3 separate regions of the Homo sapiens genome follow, and regions 1 and 2 are each linked to region 3. Evidence: promoter capture Hi-C in human tissues and cell types (Jung and others, 2019). All regions are on one chromosome and are shown on one strand. The core of a region is centred on a gene start or on the middle of the fragment in contact, and the rest is flanking DNA. Distances in the headings are between cores, read along the strand shown.

Region 1 (2,755 bases), core at 37-2,536, 260 kb before region 3:
GCCTGCATTTTGGACAAGCTCCAGGTGATGATGGTGATGCTGGTCCTGGAGCCTTACTCAAAGCAGCAAGTATTTAAACCATCTCTCACCTCGGTCTCTCTTTCATGAATGTGTCTTTCAAGTTTCTTCCCCTACCTGCTGATGGCACCCAGTTATTAAAAGAGGGCTTTCTGTGAACTTTTGCAGTGAGTGAAGAGTGCCTCCTCCTTGCTGCTGAATTCCTCCCACAGTCCCCCAGGGCAGGGAAGGAAACAGTCCCTCCTCTCCCTTTATCCTGTCTTATTGAGGTTCTCCTTGTAGTAGCTGTTGCTTCCCAACCCATACACCCTGTCTTGTTCCACTTTCTGTTGCTATAACTTAATATCTGGGACTGGGTAATTTATTAAGAAAAAACATGTATTTCTTACAGTTCTGAAGGCTGGGAAATCCAAGGCTGAGGGGCTGCATCTGGTGGGGCCCTTCTTGCTGTGTCATAATGTGGTGAAAGCATCACATGATGAGAGCCAGGGAGTGTGCCAGCTCAGGTTTCCTCTTCCCGTAAAGCCACCAGTTCCATTATGGGTGCCCCAGCCTGATGACCTTATCTCATCTTAATTATCTCTCAAAGGCCCCACCTCCAATCAACATATGGATTTGGGAATTTGGTTTCCGCAACATGAAATTTAGGGGGCACATTCAAACCATAACACCCCTTTTATCAGACTAGTACCCCAGCCCCTGGGTCTTGTGAGTCCTGAAGGCTCACCCTGTTCCCTTTCCCAGAGACTTGACTTTGGCAGATCTGCCCCCTCTTGGAAGCTACTCTCTTCTCACTCCCATCCCCACCAGTGGCAACCAGTAGCTAGTGACTGACGTGGAAGTACAAATGCCAGTCCCCTGGCCTCAAGTAGGGGCCAATCTGTGGTACAATTCACACTCCAGAGCTTCCTGTGGATCAGGTTAAAGCTGATCTCCAGCTTCAGGTCCTTCCCCTACCATGTCCAGCTCCCTTCACTCCCCATCTGCAATAATTTACTCTCTGCAAAAATTCTGCAAGAATCTCCATCTAGGAAAGCTGACTTAAGACATCCTCTCCATCAGATCCTCTTTCTCCTCCCTAAGGAGTTCTCTACTCTCTTCTTTCTTCCCAGCCATAATGGCAGATGCAGAATGCCAGAAACTAGAAACCAGTGTGCAAATAATGGAACATACCTTGGGAAGTACAACTAAAATATCACAAAGAAGAAACTCTAGCACCTTGAGCACCATGCTGCCATCCACACTCTCAGCTGCAACCCTAGCATGGCCCTGGGGTTCTGTCTCTTACAGGGAGGCCACCCACCAAGCCAGGGAGGAATTGTAGCATGGTTTCCTCGCACGCTGAATCTAAGTTACCAGCAGATGCTTTGTCCGTGAGCCTCACCTGGCCTGGCCCTGGCCTTCCCAAAGCAAAGCCCTTCCCTTGTTACCATGGTGGCCATGTGCAGGAATGGAAATACAATGGGAACAGACAGGAATCTGGAGAAAAGAGAGACATCATCTTCCACGCATTCCTGGCACCTCTTTCTTTGGCCCATTAGGAAACCCACACCCTCTTCCCCCAGCCTATCAGCTGCCCACATTCTGGGACCCAGGATCTTCAGAAGTGCTTTTGATCCCTGCTATGTGTATGCATATGTGTATGCGTATGTGTATGTGTATGCGTGTGTGTATGCGTATGCGTATGTGTATGTGTAGACATATGGCTGGAGGCAGTGAGGGAAGCGAATGTGCCCACAGGCCCAGGGGCAGTGGAGGAAAGGGGGAAGAATGGTGAAAGGAGAGGGTTAAGGAGCTGGCAGCCACACAAACACCTTCCACATTGCACTCCTTGCCATTTCTTTTCTGTGAATTTAAATGCATTCTGTCACACTGAGTTATGTCACCCAGAGGAAATGCCCAACTCGGCGACGTTTTTAAAGATTATTTTTTAGATCACCTATCACTATCCATTTGAGGAACGATTGTTCAATCTGAAAAAAATAAATTCAAAACTGTCCCCATCTAAGCAAGATGGAAAAATAACTTTCCCTATTCTTTTATTTTCTTTCTTTTTATTTTTTTAAGAAGGTTTATTTCTGAAGGACAGGTTTGAAAATCAGTTTTCACCTTGGCATCTGGCTGGATTTAAGCACCTCTGTAAACCTTGTCATACGAGTAAACAAATGAATGGACAGCCAGCTGTGTGACCTCAGGCCATTCATTTCACCTCTCTGAGCCTTAATCTCCTCAATTGTTACACTGAGATAACAATACCGACCATGACCATCAAATGAGATGATGTCCAGGACAGTCCTTGAGTGTGTAAGGTGTCTGTTCCACTAAAGTGTCAATTCCTCAAGGGCAGGGAGCAGGCTCCGGCCAATTCTGCCCTCCCAGTGGAGCTTGTATAGGGCCTGGCTCACAAGAAGTGCTTAATACATGTCAGATGAATGAATGGTTCAACGGATGATGGTTTGGTGGTTGGATGTCTGGACATCCAGAGAAAGGGATGCATGATACAGGGATGGATGGATGAAACAGTAGGCTGAAAAATAGTTTTCAAAATAGCAAACAAATAATCCCAAAAAAAGCCTTTATTTGTAGTGTTCTCCAATTTCCATGGCGTAAACGTTCCCACCATGGCTGATGTCAAGCCACCAAGTGACATCATTAAATGCAGAGTCAGAAACAGACAGGCACAATCAGCTCTTAAGAGACTGTAGAAGCCACCTCCCACACCCAACAGATGGGTGGG
Region 2 (2,700 bases), core at 145-2,644, 380 kb before region 3:
TCTCATTGTTTTAAGCTGGGTGCAGTGGTGCATGTCTGTAGTCCCAGATACTTGAGAGGATGAAGTGGGAGCATCACTTGAGCCCAGGAGTTTGAGGCTACAGTATGCCATGAATGTGCCTGTGAGTAGCTACTGCACTCCAGTCTGGGCACCATAGTGAGACCACATCTCTTAAAAAGAACACAAACAAAAAATGTATTCATTGTTGGCTTTTTTTTTTTTTTTTTTGAGATAGAGTCTCGCTCTGTTGCCCAGGCTGGAGTGCAGTGGCGCGATCTCGGCTCACTGCAAGCTCCGCCTCCAGGGTTCACACCATTCTCCTGCCTCAGCCTCCCAAGTAGCTGGGACTACAAGCACCCGCCACCATGCCCGGCTAATTTTTTGTATTTTTAGTACAGACAGGGTTTCACCATGTTAGCCAGGATGGTCTCGATCTTCAGACCTAATGATCTGCCCACCTCAGCCTCCCAAAGTGCTGGGATTACAGGCATGAGCCACCTCACCCGGCCCATTGTTGGTTTAATTTGCATTTCTCTCCCTGCTGGCTAATGATGTTTGGCATCTTTTTATGTGCTTATTGTCTTTGTACATCTTCTTTGGAGATATGTATATTCAGATCCTTTGCACAATGTTTAAATTGGGTTATTTGTTTAGTTATTGTTGAACTGTAGGAGTTCTTTATATATTCTAGATATAAGTCCCTTATCAGATATATAATTTGAACTTTTCTCTCATTCTGAGTAGTCTTGCACTTTCTCAGTGGTGTCCAACAAAACATAAAAGTTTTATATTTTGATTATGTAGAGTAATTTCATATAATTGCTGATAAGGTAGGCTTTATGTCTGCCATTCTGATGTTTGTTTTTATATGTTTCTTTTTTTTGTTTCTTCTAGTCCTCCATTATTACCTTCTTTTGTACTAGATATTTTCTAGTATTCCTTTGTCATTTCTTTCACTATATATATTTTAGTTATTTTCTTAGTGGTTGCCCTGGAGATTATAATTAGCATCTTAATTTATAACAACCTAGTTATTACCTTCATTTCAATTGTATACATAAACCATTCTCCAATATAACTTCATTCCCTCTCCAACTTTTGTACTATTTTTGTCATACAGATTACATCTTTACACACTGTATGACCATCAACATAGATTCATAATTTTTGCTTCATATCGCTATCCTTTAAAACAAATAAGAGAAAAAAAGGGTTACAAAGAAAAAAATAAATTTATTTTTCCTTTTGTATGTATTTTGGCCTTTGTATTTACCTATGTAGTTACCTTTATTTCTTTATGTCGATTTGAGTTACTTCCTATTGTCCTATCATTTCAGCCTGAAGGACTGAACATTTCGTTAGTATTACTTGTAGAAAAGCTTCAGGCTGAAATACCTGACAAACTGCCTCCATTTCTGTCTTTCTGGGAATGTCTTAATGTCTCCTTCATTTTTAAAAGATAGTTTTCTTTGGATATAGAATTCTTGGTTGACAGTTTTTTGTCTTTCAGGGCTCTGACTATACCAACCCACTGTCTTCTGACATCTATGGTTTCTGATTAAAAGTGAGCTGACAATCTTATTAAGGCTCTCTTATACATGGTGAGTCACTTCTCTCTTGATACTCTGAAGATATTCTCTTTGTCTTTGCCTCTTAACAGTTAAATTATGATGTGTCTAGGTAAGGATCTTTCTTAGTTTATCCTAGCTGGAGTTTGTTGAGATTCTCGAATGTGTAGATTAATGTTTCTCATCAAATTTGGGAAGTTTTAGCCATCCCTTTTTTTTTTTTTCTTTTGAGACGGAGTCTCACTCTGTCACCCAGGCAGGCTGGAGTGCAGTGGTGCAATCTAGGCTCACTGCAAGCTCCGCCTCCCAGGTTCACACCATTCTCCTGCCTCAGCCTCCCAAGTAGCTGGGACTACAGGCGCCCGCCACCATGCCTGGCTAATTGTTTTGTTTTGTTTTGTTTTGTATTTTTAGTAGAGACGGGATTTGACCATGTTAGCCAGGATGGTCTCAATCTCCTGAACTCATGATCCACCCACCTCGGCCTCCCCAAAGTGCTGGGATTACAGGCGTGAGCCACCACACCCAACCTAGCCATCCTTTTTTTTCTCAAATATTCTTTCTGCCACTCTATCTTCTCTTCTAGAAATCACATTATGCATATTTTTGTATTCTTGGTCTATCTCAGTATGCTTGATAGGTCTTTGAGACTCTTCATTTTTCTTCATTCTTTTTATCTTTCTCTTCCTCAGACAGATAATATCATTTGACCTATCATCAGGTTTGCTGACTTCTTTTTCTTCTGCCTGTTAAAATGTTCTGTTGAGCTCCTCTAAGTGAATGTTTCATTTCAGCTACTGTACTTTCAACTCCAGAATTTTTGTTTTAATAATTTCTATCTCTTTATCGATATTCTATATTTCATCAGACATTTTTAAACTTTTCTTTAGTTCCTTAGACATAATTTCCTTCATGCTTTAAGCATATTTTAAATAGCTAATTTAAAGCCTTTGTCTAATAAATCCAACATCTGGGGTTCCTTAGTGTAGTTTCTCTTGTTTTTGCCCCTTTTTCCTGTTTATGGGCCATCCTTTCTGATTTCTTTGCATAACTTGTATTTTTTGTTAAAAAAGTTGACCTTTAAAATAATATAATATGGCAACTCTGGAAATCAGATTCTCCCCCTCTCCAG
Region 3 (2,700 bases), core at 151-2,650:
TAGCAAAAGGGACTGAGAAGGAGTCTGCCATGAAGTGAGGGGGGACTCAGAAGAGTCTGGGTTTCTGGTGGACACTGAAGAAAGTTTTCAGCCTTCTGCCGTCAGCCTCTCTTGGAACTGCTCTGAGCCTAGGGAGCTACCTCACTTGAAGGCTCTCCTAGAAGCCGCCAGCCAATGACGAGTTGCTATGAGGTGTAAAGACCCCACCCCCTTGCCTTACTTTGGAACACCTCTGCAGGGCCATCTCAGTTCCAGAGCTTCCATTAGGTCAGGCTGAGGCCTCTGTTGAGACTACATCAGCAGTTCAGCTTCTTCTTCCGCCCAACCCGTCATTCCCCTACTGGTGATATTCGCAAGAGCACTCCGATAAACCTACACTCAAATCTTGCTATCGGAGTCTGTTTCGGGGGACCCGACCTAAAACAACCATTGTAGCCCCAGCCCAGAGCCGTGCACATAGCAGATGCTCAATAAATATCTGTTGGCTGAATGTGTCCATGGGTATTTTCTCTTGATGTCTGACAAGGTTTTCTCAATCCCTTGCCTTCCAAGGCCTTGTATACAAAAACGACCAATAAATGTCCTTACTATAGGTGTTGGGTGGGGAGTAGAGCCCTCGACAGCTACCCAGAAAACAACACACAGCAAGGCTGAGCGCTACAAACTTGGGGCCTCGGCCCCGCCCCTCGCCGCAGCTGCTTCCCGGACTCGGGAGGGGACGGAAGCGGCCCTGAGCGCAGGGTTCCAGGATCGGGACCCGCCACCAGCCTCCCGGGACTGGTATAGGCAAAGGCGGGCGGGGCGGTCACTGATCCGACAGTTCCGCAGAACGGTTACTTTTTAAAACGCTAAAATGGCGGAATTCTTTTTATTCTTTCTCTTTATGGCCAAAAAAAAAAAAAGAGAGAGAAACAAAAAAAATTCCATATTCCATTATAAAAATCCAAAATTAATGGTAGGAAAGTTTGCCAAATGACTCATTCATTTCCCAAGAAAACCAAAACCCCGCCCTCCACACCTTTCCATTAATAAAAAAACTCTTAATTGATTGCGTATCTCCAAACACGCAGCCTCCACCCTCCTCGCCCCTCCTGATCGCAGCCCGAAGCCACGCCGCAGGGTCGGCTGGGCCTGGAGTCCCGCACCCGCCTGGCCCCCTGCGCGCTCCGCCCAGACCGCTTTCCCCGGCGTTTTCCCGAACCTCCTCCCCAGCCCGCGCCCCCCGCCGGAGGCGCTCGGAAGGAGCGAGACGCCGGGGCCGCAGACCTGAGCCCTCGCCGCCCTGGACGGAGCGGGGTGGCGCGGCGCCCAGGGGACGCAAGGTCTGAGCCCACGCACCGCTGGTTGCTTACCTGCCTGGCCAGCCGGTGGCCGCCCAGCGCCTAGCTACGGTCCGAGCCGGGCGCCGCGCGCCTGCGCGTTCGGGGGGCGGGTCCGCCTCCCTGCAGGACGCAGAGCGCGGGGCCCGAGCGCCGGGCACATCTGCCCGGCCCAGGCGCAGGCCCAGGCTTCTGTGGCGCCCGCGCCCTCTTGCCTGCCTTCGAGGCCCTGGTTGTGCGCGCCTCATGCCCCCTCAACCTAGGACAGGTTTGCCGCACGGGCGTGGCGGGTCGAGATTTTTCCTGCCCCCGAACCCCTGCATCACAGCTAGCAGAGCGCAGCGGGGGCGCAGGGACCGCGGAGCTCGAAGAGAGAGCCTGGAGGGCTACCGAGCTGAGTGGTTAGTGACAAAAGACGAGGCTGCACCCAGGCATGCACCCCAGCCGAGTGTCTGCTCTGTCCAACGCCTTCCCACCGCGCCTGCCCTCACCCTGGAGGGGAGCTCAGGAGCGTCAGAAAACGGCCTCAGGAAGGGTGAAGGGCACGTGCGACCGGAGAGAGGAACCCTCGTGCGGGGACTCTGGTCCTGGCCCTGCCGGGCATAAAGAGCGGCATTAGCCGCGTCTACTTTTGGGTGACCCCACTGCGAAGGGCTGGGTAACATCAGTATCCCCCAGGTCCTCCATTTCGACATTGGTAAAGACTATCACCCACTTCATGGCGTATGGTCGTTTTCAGTTTGGGTTCCTGTGGTGGTGTAGCAATCACTGCCCCTCTCTGCTTCACTTTGACTGATCTCTTCGCCTCCACCTGATCTCTCTAATTAATCAAATCTCCTTGTTATTGGTTCTGGTAACACAAGATACCTGTCTCGCTTACACATACCACAGCTGGCACTTCACATAGATTTGAGTAATTCCAGAGGCTAAGAGGTTTCAAGCTCCAAGAGGGTAGGAAATATTAGTTTTTGTATTCCTAGTACCTAGCCCAGAGCGGGGCACAGAGTGGGTGCTTAATAAATATCTGTTGAGTGACTAAATGATGTAGGGTATGCAGATGAAAACAGGGTAACTTTTGGTACAGTCCACCATCCAGCCCCTCTCCCACACCAATGATTTAATTTAATCCCTTGATTTTACTTGGCCTTAAGTCATGGCCACATGTCAGACCACCAGGCTCCTGATTCCCTCCCAGGCCAGATGAGAAAAGGGTTCCTAATGAAATGTAGGCAAATTCTCCAAATTGCTGTGATCGACAGGTTTAAATTTATGCAGAATTTAACTATTCCGGTTGCCACGCCAACGCATTGCATGTGTTCTTCCTTGCTGCAATGTCAATTTTTAATCACATCTCATATTATTGGGAACAGGATTGCATCAG

Evidence for each region. Contacts are between HindIII fragments. The study calls those that stand out against the background at their distance.
Region 1: a contact is called between a fragment that was not itself captured here and the fragment with the promoter of L3MBTL1 in region 3, in 1 of the 25 tissues and cell types used here (neural progenitor cells).
Region 2: a contact is called between a fragment that was not itself captured here and the fragment with the promoter of L3MBTL1 in region 3, in 2 of the 25 tissues and cell types used here (spleen and thymus).

The regions. Positions count from the first base shown.
Region 1 is chr20:43,770,604-43,773,358 of GRCh38, reverse strand. All of the region lies in intron 1 of LOC101927200 (a long non-coding RNA gene), which reads right to left. Among named protein-coding and RNA genes, the nearest start is that of GTSF1L, 45 kb to the right of the region's middle. The HindIII fragment of the contact is 3,261 bases long and covers 1-2,755 here.
Region 2 is chr20:43,889,188-43,891,887 of GRCh38, reverse strand. No RefSeq gene overlaps it. Among named protein-coding and RNA genes, the nearest start is that of LINC01728, 4.2 kb to the left of the region's middle. The HindIII fragment of the contact is 4,952 bases long and covers 1-2,700 here.
Region 3 is chr20:43,506,397-43,509,096 of GRCh38, reverse strand. It overlaps L3MBTL1 (L3MBTL histone methyl-lysine binding protein 1), which reads right to left and starts at 1,400. Exons shown (of 22, transcript NM_001377303.1): 1 at 1,353-1,400. RefSeq lists a silencer at 1,190-1,519. The HindIII fragment of the contact is 9,495 bases long and covers 1-2,700 here.